3 separate regions of the Homo sapiens genome follow, and regions 2 and 3 are each linked to region 1. The links are contacts of gene promoters, found by promoter capture Hi-C in blood cells and fetal thymus (Javierre and others, 2016). All regions are on one chromosome and are shown on one strand. The core of a region is centred on a gene start or on the middle of the fragment in contact, and the rest is flanking DNA. Distances in the headings are between cores, read along the strand shown.

Region 1 (4,148 bases), core at 1-2,500:
TTTCTTGAGGTGATGGGAAATCAGATTGCATTTCAATAGGAAGAGTAAGAGAATGAGACAGATTTTACTAAAGATTTCCAATAAAAGAAATCAGAGGTGGGTTTGAATAGGTGACATATTTAAAAAAATTGGGAGATCGATGAGAATAACACAGGGATAATTGGAAGATGTAGAGGTGAGAATGGGCTAAATACGGGACAATTGATAGGTATAGAAAAGGGTTGAGACTAAGTTGAAAGCATTTATTTAGATCCTTTGGCAAGATTTGAAAACATCTGCTTAGCCCCTTCCAGTATTGGCTTAGTCCTCACTCCATAAATAACGGGATTGAGCATAGGAGGAATGACAACGTAGAGGCTGGCCAGGAGAATATGGACATAGCATGGGACGCTTCTCCCACCAAACCTGTAGGCAAAGACAGAAAAAAGCGCAGGGACATAGAAGAGTAGGATGACACAGATATGGGATCCACAGGTACTCAGGGCCTTGGAGCGGGCATCTTGAGAAAGGAGGCGGAAGACTGCTTGGAGGATGTGGATGTAGGAAACAGTAATAAGCATGATGTCTAGGCCTGTGGAGAGAAGAGCAGCTGCCAACCCATACCAGACATTGATGGAGATATCAGAACAGGACAGATGGGCAATGCCCATGTGCTCACAAAATGTGTGTGCAATGATATTGATCTGGCAATAGTGCAGGTGCTCAAGGAGAAAGATGGATGGAAACATAATGATGAAGCTGTGGCTCAGGGCGGCAGTGACGATCTTCCCAATGACCTTGCTTGTGAGGATTGTGACATATCGCAGGGGGGAGCAGATGGCCACATAGCGGTCAAAGGCCATGGCCAGCAGGACAGCAGAGTGAATGAAGAGGAAGTGAATGAAGAACATCTGAGTGAGGCAGCCATCAAAGGAAATGAGGCTATAACCTAGCCACAAATTGGCCAGGGCCTTAGGCATGGTGGTGGTAGAGAGCAAGACATCAGCACTGGCCAGCATAGATAAGAATATGTACATGGGCTCATGCAGGATTGCCTGGGAGAGGATGACACAAATTAGGATGCCATTGCCTTCCAGGGCAGTGATGTACATGATGCAGAAGGGGATGGACAGCCAGATATGTAGTTGCTCCAGCCCAGGGATGCCAGTGAGGAAGCAGCCTGCTATGCGAGTGTCAGAGTTGTTCATAGCACCTATGCTGTTAGCAGAAAAAAGGGCCATGATTTTATGCAGCGCCCTCACCTGTGCCATAGGGAAAAAAGAGCTTCAGATTTTTGAATACATTAGTAGAGTGTCCATATGCACAAGGCCTGCATATACTTACAGGCCCGATGACAGTTATGGCTTCTGCACACAGGCATATCTCTACAGATAATCACACACAGGCTCTGCACACAGCCATATTCTCCGTAAATAATTACACATAGGCTCTGCACAGTTACAGGACCTGCCCACAGACAGGCTCAGTGTTCTTACTCAGAAGCTCTCCACACAGCTTTAAGAATTTCAGGAAACTAGGCCGGGCGCAGTGGCTCACGCCTGTAATCGCAGCACTTTGGGAGGCTGAGGCTGGTGGATCACGAGGTCAGGAGTTCAAGACCAGCCTGGTCAAGATGGTGAAACCCTGTCTCTACTGAAAATACAAAAAATCAGCTGGGTGTGGTAGCAGGCGCCTGTAATCCCAGCTACTCGGGAGGCCGAGGCAGGAGAATCACTTGAACTTGGAGGGCGGAGGTTGCAGTGAGCCGAGATCGCGCCACTGCACTCCAGCCTGGGCGACAGAGTGAGACTCCGTCTCAAAAAAAAAAAAATTTTTTTTCAGGAAACTAAAGGGCTCAAAAACATTGCCAGACTCAGCACAGTGCCATAGGTCCAGAAAAGAACAGGGATAGGTAGAACATCAAAACCAATCTGTACAATCTCTTTGGGCATGTGAACTGTAATGAGCTCTGCAAAAGCCCCAGGCCCTACAGAGAGGACTGCAGTCCTACAACAAGAGGACTAAACAACAATTTGATTAGCAGATTATGTGAAAGAGTAGGGTTGGGGGTGGTGGGCACTGCCAACCCTACACCCATTTTTCCCTAGGCACAGATGCGCTAAGTATGAAGGCAATTAAGGTAGCTACGGCATTTAGAAAGAACACCGCAGAGGGTGTGAAAAAACCTGGGTCAGAGGTCTGCCCTGTTAACTATTGGCTGCTTGATCTTGGACAAGTCACTGTCTTCTCTGAGTAACAATTTTCTTTCTTTCTTTCTTTTTTTTTTTTTTTTGAGACGGAGTCTCGCTCTGTCGCCCAGGCTGGAGTGCAGTGGCGCGATCTCGGCTCACTGCAAGCTCCGCCTCCCAGGCTCACGCCATTCTCCTGCCTCAGCCTCCCAAGGAGCTGGGACTACAGGCGCCCTCCACCACGCCCGGCTAATTTTTTTGTATTTTTGGTAGAGACGGGGTTTCACCGTGTTAGCCAGGATGGTCTCGATCTCCTGACCTCGTGATCCACCCACCTGGGCCTCCCAAAGTGCTGGGATTACAGGTGTGAGCAATTTTCTAATTTTTAAAATGAGCATAATTGTTGTTTTGTTGGTATATTAAGCTAAATTTTCTCTGTGGAAAGCTTATTAAATTGCGTGTGACTTCCTGAGTCACCTCTGTGGCTGTGAAATGTGGCACTGTCATCCAGAGCAGAAAGGAAGGTGTAGAACAATGCTTCTGAAGCTTGGTCTCCACAGCACCATCAGGGAACTTGTAAATTCTTCGGCCCTACCACAAACCTACGGATGAGAAAACCTAGAGTTGGGATAACATTCTGTGTTTTAGCAAGCTCTCTAGGTGATTCTGATTCATGCTGAAGTTTGTGAGCCACTGATGTAAGAACTTTTTGAACTTTCTTCCCTATCTACTCTAGATGTCTATCAGTTCCACCAGGATCATTACCTTTTAGTATCCATTGGTTTCCCCTGCATCTGTAAATTCTCAGACTTCAACTAAATCTAACTAGTGTTATCCTCAGCTTACATAGTCAGGATGTGAAAAAATGACACAATCACATAAGTAGTCTTTAGTACATATTAGGACACATGATTCCTCCTTAGTCCTATTGAACTATTCTCACAATGAATATACGACTTTTTTTTTTTTTTTGAGATGGAGTCTCACTCTGTCTCCCTGCCTAGAGTGCAATGACGTGATCTCCGCTCACTGCAACCTCTGCCTCCTGGGTTCAAGTGATTCTCCTGTCTCAGCCTCCCAAATAACTGGGATTACAGGCGCCCACCACCATGCCCAGCTAATTTTTTTTTTGTATTTTTAGTAGAGATGGGGTTTCATCATGTTGGCCAGGCTGGTCTTGAACTCCTGACCTCAAGTGATCCAGCTGCCTTGGCCTCCCAAAATGCTGGCATTGGCCTCCCAAAGTGCTGGTGGCTCCCATATGTGAGCCACCACACCTGGCATATACGACTTTTATCACTGCCCAAATTCTGTTTTTCTCTCTCCACTGAATGTTTCTCTTTTGTAACTCACATTTCAGGACTATCAGGAACATATCCCTCATATTATTCCTTTCCTGTACATTTATTTATCTCTGCATCCATCCTCCCCTCATTTCCTCCAGTCCCAGAGAAAGAGGTGCCAGTATCTTTCCTATTTTCCAATGTTTCTTTTGTCATAGCTGGAACATATTTTACTTTACCTAAATATAAGACAAGTTTCTTGAGTTATTTTTTGAGGTGCTGGGAAATGAACCTAGGGCCTCGTGTATGAATATTTAACATATTAGATTGTTTTTAAAACAACCTTATACACACACAAACATACATATGCATACTTACATGCATGCATTCATATGTGTACATATATACATATGCATGTATATACATGTGTTTATGTGTATGAATGTATGTAGCTGTATCGTCAAGAATAATTTCCCCATCTATTCTCTGAATTACCTTTCTTTCCTACCAATTCAGGGACTTTGTTTCATCAATTATTCTCTGTCTTTATCTTCAGCTTCTCCTGATTTCCTGGATCTTTATTAAAGAATATTCAAATATTTTTAACTTGAAGACAAGCAAAAAATTAACAACAGCTATAATAAAAACATTTTATTCTACTAAACTCTCTTTTAAATTACTGTTTTGTCTCTCTTCT
Region 2 (4,148 bases), core at 776-3,275, 360 kb before region 1:
CAAGGTTAAATAAAGATTATAAAATCATTCTCTATGCACTTCATACCTGCCACCCTCCAATCTTACTTTCTCTTTTCTAATATTTTTGCCATTTTCCTTGATAGAGTGGCTCACTGAGAGTAAGACATACTGGAGTTACAGGAGGTCCTCAAGATAATAACCCCTAGAACAAAACTTCCAGCCTCCAGTTGGTGACTAACGACCCTTCTTCATGCCCTGGGCACTATGTTCATTCACTTCTTTTCCTTCTCTGTCTTTGAATACATTAACTTGTAAGTGTGGAACAAAAACCAGTAAGACCTTCTAAGCCTAGAACTTGGCATAATTGACCCAACCCCAATTAACTTTGCACCCACAGCAAGTACAACTATAGGCTGTTAAATTCCACATATTCCCTTTAAACACTATCTTCTGCATTACTTTCTTGTCATTTATTCCTTTGCTCATTGCATCCTCTGATCCTACTTTCTGCAAAATTTTTACAGTTAAAAATCACAGCCTCTTGGTTAGTTGTATTCTCAGGTATTTTATTCTTTTTGTGGCACTTGTAACTAGGATTGCATTCTTGATTCAGCTCTTAGCTTGAACTTTATTGGCGTACAGAAATGCTACTAAGTTTTGTACATTGATTTTGTATCCTGGAGTCCTTTATCTGTTCTAGGAGCCTTTTGCAGTGTATGAAGGGGACTTAAACTTCAGAAATGTTTTATTTTATTTTAAAAAACCTGAAGCAAATAAGGTGGTTTTTTTTTTTTTTTTTTTAAAGAAAATCACAGCCCCAAATCTTACCTTTCCAAGTAGCTTTTCTTCTCCAGGGGTCACAAAGGACTCCTAGAAGGAATTAAATGTTTTGTGCTTGGAAGTAGAGAAAATCTTGAAATGACCTTTGCAGGGTAGAGCCAAATGGAAGATCTAGTGACTTAGGCATGAGTATCCATAGAGAAGCCTAGAGGAAAAAGTATATTTTCTGTCTCTTGAAGAGCTTTGGGATAATTATTTTTAGCACTAAGATGAAATTTCTGAGGATTACATGGGAGGATTATTTTATTTTTCTAACTCACTGACTTTTCCTTTTTCCTTCTATTTTCTCTAATGTTTCTGCATGTTTTTCAATCATTCAACAAGCATCAATAAAGTACTCATCCCTAGAAGTAAAGCATCTGGAAACACATTTGCTCCTTTTCTCCTTTCATTATTCAATCTTGGTTTGTAATCAAAACTTGCCAATGGCACACTAGGGCTTAGGAACTGGAGCTAATGGTTTCCAGTTCCAGCCAGGAACAAGATGAGAAAGCCAAAGAAGTTGAAGCTCAAAGACTAAAGGAGAGACCATCAGCCTAGGCTTTCCCAGGTTGCAAGATAGGCCCACAGAATAGTGCCAAAGAAACCCTGTTTTAAAAAGTAAAAGAGTTGCTAGGGTTCTATCTTGGTAAAATTCAGGCAGGCCTGTAAGATACCTCTCTCAGGTGTAGTTTCAGATATTATTCAGTGCATCCAGTGACAGGTAGCTAGCTGCTCTTCTGGGCGTAGTTTTCTGTTCTTGTCAGAAGTAGATTTTAGCAATTTTGATCAGAAATATTTTGAACTACTTCCTGACTTCCACTGGTCCTGAACTGTGGTCTTTGTCTTCAACCTCTGAAGTTATAGAAACTAATGTAATTCTAACTTTATAATTCAGACACTGGTAGGCATATTCTTTGTTTTCAAGCCACTAAATTTCCATATTCAGAGTTGAAAACTCCAAATTTTCTTTACTTGGCTCCAAATTATGCACTTTTTAGCTCTCATACTGCCTGTTAATCTTCTATAGACAAATTGCAACTTTCCTGCATTTCTGCTACCACCAAGCACCCAGAGGATGGCAAAAGAGAGAAGGTCCCAGAGCACATAAGCCTCTTTACCTGAGACAGGGTGCAGTCTTTATTTATTTCCTTCTCAGACTACTTCAGCAGTATTGACGCAGGAATGGAAAAGAGCACAGATAGGGACTGAAGACAGAGATCTCTCTAGTCTTCTGGCTAATCTTTGTATAGCCACCATTAACATCCTCTAGCCAGACTCACAGAAAATGTGAAGCATGGGGTTTGGCTCCATTAATATTGGAGCTCTTGTTAGTTTCAGAAGTATCTGGGGCAGTTATAATTGTAGTGCCTCAGAAACTCTGACCTCTGGGAACTTCTTAATCCCTCTTCCCGTAGGACCAAAAGGTCCTCCTGGGAAAAACAGGCAGTTAGATGGGAGAAGAAAATTATTCTCTTTCTTTCTGTGACAAAAAACCCCCGGTAATCCAGTGCTACACTGACTGCTTGTCCTGTAGGCAGTAAGTACGTCTCCTGGGTACAGGGATCTTATGTTCACATCCATCTGTGTTCATATTCATCTGCCTATGCACACTGAGCAGCTTCTGTGGATCCAATAAGTGAATGGAAATTTTTGTGGGCTTCCTGCTTGTTTTGTTTGATAGGCACTGCCCAAACCATGCTATTGAATGGATTGGTGTTAATCTATCATGACTTTTATGAAGGTATTATGATAAAAATGCAAGAGAAAACTGAACAAAATCTTACTGAGAAAATGCAATGTGATATTCAGAGAAAAAAGACCTATAATAATTTTTTTTGTGGTGAGAGGTTTAAAAATGGAATTTATAAATAACCCAATATTAGTTAGCAACTATGTTTTTCCTTTAGGTTTTATTTTCATTTTGAACCTTATATGAATTATTCACACTTATCAACTAATGGAAACAAGCATCATAAGTTTCTTCAAGACTTTTGCTTTATTTCTTTTCCTGTATTTTCCAACATTCCTCCTATTTCCCTTCCCTTTAGGAAAGTGAAAACTCCAGTGGATTTAAAATATATCTTTCTAATTAATTTTCAGTATGCTTATACAGGGATATACTTAATTTATGAAAAAATTCTTTTAAAATTGAATTTATATAACTGTCACTGGGTTGTAAATCTGTTATTCTTTTTCTATCAATGCTATATCTTCAAATTTATACATGTTGCTATGTGTAAGTTGACTTTATTATTTTTTACTGCTGTTCACTACTAAGAAAGACCATTTGAGAATTTTCCCCAATGCCTTATGAATTATAATGCTTTCCTTTCTCGACGGTGGAAACAGATACTATTTCAGGCCCTGTGTGTTGATTGGATACTGTTCTCACTAATTCTTTTAGGTGCCCTCCTCCCTTCCTCCACCTTGGTTAGTGTCCTCATCTGCACACATTCATTCATTACTTGAGGAAGATCCTCTGTAGGTTTTCAGGCTTCTCTCTGTGTGCAGCTTTCTTTTCTCCAGTATTCTTTCTTGCGAGCTTTAGCGGGTTTGGTCTTTCTGTACTCCAATTACATCTCCTCCACTTAGGGACTCCACTGAGTTCCATTTGGTCTTGCTTCCCTGCACTGCAGCCTGGAAACTCTTTGAAGACAGAAAACTGGGGTAGTTGTAGGGCCTGCCTCATTTGTTTCACATATTTCAGGGATAACTGTCCTTACTTGCCTGATGTCTACTGTCTTGAAACTCATTGTTTACTATATTTTATTCCACTTTTGGTTTGTTTTGTTTTAGGTCAGTTAGGAAAGCAAATTCAGTCCCTTTCATCATATCTTGGCTAGAAGCTGAATAATATGAGAATTTTTAGAGTAATTTAATTCACCTCATCAGTATTTGTTGTAGCTGATCTCAAAAGATGCCCGCCCCCAATGTAGCATGCTAGTGAGGAATCAATACTTTGTATGATCCCCTTATTTTCAATCTGAGATGAGTCTTGGATTCACTTTTGGTTAAAAGAATGTGTTGGAAGTGAAACTGATTGAATTCTGAGACAAGCTCCTAAGAGGCCTTGTAGCTTCTACCAGCATCTCTTAGTTAAGTTGTTTAGGGGGATATCTGACTGCACTGAGACAGTTTTGCTGTGATGAAGCCCCAGTTAGCTATATGGAAAAGACTCACAAAGAGAGGCCTCTGCTCAGTCATGCTCTGATGTTTGAACCATCTCAGACATGTGAGTAAAAAAGTTATATTGGACATCCCAGCTGCAGTACATGTCACACGAGTTAGAACCAAGAAATTCAGCTGACAGGTACACGGTACAGCGTAGCTGTCACGGTCACATCCAGTAATTCAATCCATCCCAG
Region 3 (4,148 bases), core at 708-3,207, 280 kb before region 1:
ACTTCCTCTATACAATTTTTCTTGACTCACCTCTACATTTAAAACATCCTGTGCACATTTCTACCATAGCACTTGCAGTACAGTTCTTAAATTTCATGTTTGGAATTTTATCTTCTTTACTACGTGGTGATTTCCTTAAGGATATATGACCAGTTTTATTCATTTTTTGTATTTAAACTTCCTAATTACCACTGATACATAGAGAACCTCTTCAATATTTGATGGGATAAATTGTGAAAGGTATTTCGCTGCCTATTTTGTGTATTCTCAATTAGTGAAAAACAGGAAGTTTATACCCTTATCTCTGATAGTTTCACCCAAGTTTATACACACACATTCTCTCTCTCTCTCTCTCTCTGAAATAATTTCCCAAATTATCAAATAATCTCTCATTTTTGCTATTCTTCGTATGCTTCAAATAGGTACTACCAGCAATGCATTTTTGTTGTTACAGGATTAAAGTAGAACTTGCTGACATTCACACACTTTTATCTCTGCTGCGTACGTCTCAATTCTGACTTCCCCCAATGTTCAAGTATTCTTAAATTGTAATCAATGCTTTTTGTGTAGTTGCCACGTCACATTTAACCAATTCCGCATTATCTGTAAAACTAGTTTTTCCCAAGTAAAAGTAAGTTGCGCAGTAATGAACTTTTTGCTTCAAATTTTGAATTTACTATCTGTAAATTCAGGATTTACTATCCGTAAATTCAGGATTTACTATCTGTAAATTCAGGATTTACTATATTGGAGACATCCATAGAGACAAAACAGCTGGGATAGAATTTGAGTAGCAGCTAAACTGTAGGTCATCCAAAGGGCTTCTACTTTCTTCCCATGAATATAAGACTGAGATATATTTGAAAATTTTGTAGCCCAGAATATTTAGTTTCCTTGCCACAGAAAAAGCTGGCCTATATATAAACAGTTTCTTTACTGAATGCGTGTATTTATGCACTCTCCAAATAATAGGATTATCTAGATTAAAATTATCTCTTCATCCATGTTCCATCATAGCTGCAAAATACTCTTTGTCAAGTATTTTCTTTTCCTTGTTTTTACCCATTTTCCAAATCCGATGGATAAGCTTCTTTTCTCAAACACAGGTGTGATGGAAACTAAATTATTTATTTCCTAAAATATGACATTAAAATTACCCACAGTTTTGCCTCCTTGTAATCAATGTCTATTTGTGGAGGTTTTAAATTGAGAACTATTATGTAGCAGATCTTTTTCCTGCATATGAGCAAGATAAATTGTTTCTTCTCTCAGAAGTATACAGTCTAGTAGTCACAAATTGTATACAGTATACACAGTCTAAATTGTATACAGAAGTATACAGTCTAGTAGTCACAAACTGTATACAGTATATACAGCCTAAATTGTATACAGAAGTATACAGTCTAGTAGTCCCAAATTGTATACAGTATAGTCTAAATTGTATATAGAAGTATACAGTCTAGTAGTCACAAATACCTGTAAAAATGCATAACAACACAGAAACGGTTTTACACACTACATTTTTGATTCCCAAATAGAGGAATAGTTGAGATTACAAATACCTTGATCGTGAAGCAAAAATATGTGTAACATTTCTATAGACACTGACCCTGGAACTTTATTTTTCTCATTTAGTTCTGGCTAAATTCCAGATTTTGCATTTTTATTTGGCAGATGACATTCTTCTGCCATTTCTTTTTATATTAGTCTTTGATATTAGGTGAAGGGGCAGTAGAATAAGACTGGTTCTATTCCTGGTACCAATGTTGCTCAGGAGAGGCTAGGAGAAATTGTGGAGAGTATTTTACCTTACTCATGAATATATATAAAGAAAGATTAATATGTTATTGTGAATTTGACTAGAAATCTGAACAAAAGAAGAAGTGGAACAAGAATTACTAATAGGAATATTATAATCGTCGCTGGTGTGCCCAGCAGCTTTATATGGCAGGAAGAATGTCTACGTCTAATCACACCCAGTTCCATCCTTCTTCATTCCTACTGCTGGGTATCCCAGGGCTAGAAGATGTGCACATTTGGATTGGAGTCCCTTTTTTCTTTGTGTATCTTGTTGCACTCCTGGGAAACACTGCTCTCTTGTTTGTGATCCAGACTGAGCAGAGTCTCCATGAGCCTATGTACTACTTCCTGGCCATGTTGGATTCCATTGACCTGGGCTTGTCTACAGCCACCATCCCCAAAATGTTGGGCATCTTCTGGTTCAATACCAAAGAAATATCTTTTGGAGGCTGCCTTTCTCACATGTTCTTCATCCATTTCTTCACTGCTATGGAGAGCATTGTGTTGGTGGCCATGGCCTTTGACCGCTACATTGCCATTTGCAAACCTCTTCGGTACACCATGATCCTCACCAGCAAAATCATCAGCCTCATTGCAGGCATTGCTGTCCTGAGGAGCCTGTACATGGTTGTTCCACTGGTGTTTCTCCTTCTGAGGCTGCCCTTCTGTGGGCATCGTATCATCCCTCATACTTATTGTGAGCACATGGGCATTGCCCGTCTGGCCTGTGCCAGCATCAAAGTCAACATTAGGTTTGGCCTTGGCAACATATCTCTCTTGTTACTGGATGTTATCCTTATTATTCTCTCCTATGTCAGGATCCTGTATGCTGTCTTCTGCCTGCCCTCCTGGGAAGCTCGACTCAAAGCTCTCAACACCTGTGGTTCTCATATTGGTGTTATCTTAGCCTTTTTTACACCAGCATTTTTTTCATTCTTGACACATCGTTTTGGCCATAATATCCCACAGTATATACATATTATATTAGCCAACCTGTATGTGGTTGTCCCACCAGCCCTCAATCCTGTAATCTATGGAGTCAGGACAAAGCAGATTCGAGAGAGAGTGCTGAGGATTTTTCTCAAGACCAATCACTAACCAGTTGGAGGTTGGAGAGTCTGTCACTCTAACCTAATAGAAAGCAGAAAAACAGAAGGGAATGCTGCAGCCAATAACATTATTTATCTGTTAACTGAAGCTTTTGACTTTAATTATAATAATGAGAATTTTACCCTTGTCGAACTCTCCTTTTCCAAGTTCTTTTATTTCTATTGCTGGATCCTCAAGGCAGTTTTATAAAGTATGTATTAGTTTTTCCATTCTTGTGATTAATATACTTATGTTCGGAAAAGTTGAGTGATTTACTCAAACTACATGTTTAATAGGAAGTAGTAATTTAAGCCAAATAGACTGCCTTATAGTTTTCTTTAGTATGTTTAAGAAATAACAGAATACGGAATAAAATTCTTACTTTAAAAAGATAATAAACAGAATAAGTGGCTTCTAGAATTCTTAAAATAATAATAATAGCTTACTCTAGTAATAATATTAACATACCATAGATGCAGTGTAGATATATGGGTATTGACAGGTATACCACACATGAATATACTCATATCATGCCCACCATAATCTTATTCAATAGTTACTATAATTTCCCTCATGCACCTAGAGATGCAAGCATAGTCATAAAATTAGATATTAAAGGAAAAAGGAAATAATGCAGCATGAGCATGACATATACATTCGTAAATATTTCATTCATTTGCTTGTTTAATTATTTAAATAATATTTACATAATATATTTTTACATATATGAATATATGTGCGTGTGCGTGTGCATACTTCTACTATGTTTCATGTGTGGGTTTATGAGCTGTAGGAACATTCGAAGACACAGTGTATTGTCTTTAAGTACTTATATACTTTGAGAAAAAAGAAATAATAAGTTGTTTCTAAAGTAGTGTTGAGACATATTTTTTTTTTCTTCAGGAGATTTGGAAATTGTGTGGCTATTAGCAGTTTCATTCATAATGAAATTTATAATCCCTTAAAAAACTTGGAGGAAGATAATTGCAGGAAGAACACCTTGAATGTAAGTTCTTTATTGCTGCTCTGCCTGCCATTTATACAGTTAAGATATAGGATTAGGCAGTAGACCACAACAAGTGGCATGTGCAGACTATAAAGCAAAGACACTTAAATTTAGCTGTGATTCAATGATCTCCTATAGAAAGCAGCCCTTAGGTCAATCACTGGGTGAACAGATAGGAGCAGAATGCGCTCTGTGGAAATTAAGGGTTTAGGACCAGAGTCTACCATTTTCTTATGGGAGATTCCAGAGAGTG

What was found. Contacts are between HindIII fragments. The CHiCAGO score rates a contact against its expected background, and 5 or more counts as called.
Region 2: the fragment with the promoter of OR56A3 here is called in contact with the fragment with the promoter of OR52B6 in region 1 in 4 of 17 cell types (M2 macrophages, megakaryocytes, non-activated CD4 T cells and 1 more); the score reaches 8.3 in M2 macrophages.
Region 3: the fragment with the promoter of OR52E8 here is called in contact with the fragment with the promoter of OR52B6 in region 1 in 15 of 17 cell types (M2 macrophages, M1 macrophages, monocytes and 12 more); the score reaches 9.7 in M2 macrophages.

Annotation. Positions count from the first base shown.
Region 1 is chr11:5,577,979-5,582,126 of GRCh38, reverse strand. It overlaps OR52B6 (olfactory receptor family 52 subfamily B member 6), which reads right to left and starts at 1,250. Exons shown (of 1, transcript NM_001005162.2): 1 at 243-1,250. The coding sequence starts at 1,250. The coding sequence ends at 243. RefSeq lists an enhancer at 714-1,008 and a silencer at 714-1,008. The HindIII fragment of the contact is 3,709 bases long and covers 1-2,615 here.
Region 2 is chr11:5,940,128-5,944,275 of GRCh38, reverse strand. It overlaps OR56A3 (olfactory receptor family 56 subfamily A member 3), which reads right to left and starts at 2,025. Exons shown (of 3, transcript NM_001003443.3): 1 at 1,902-2,025. The HindIII fragment of the contact is 14,826 bases long and covers 1-4,148 here.
Region 3 is chr11:5,855,499-5,859,646 of GRCh38, reverse strand. It overlaps OR52E8 (olfactory receptor family 52 subfamily E member 8), which reads left to right and starts at 1,957. Exons shown (of 1, transcript NM_001005168.3): 1 at 1,957-2,898. The coding sequence starts at 1,957. The coding sequence ends at 2,898. The HindIII fragment of the contact is 1,911 bases long and covers 1,090-3,000 here.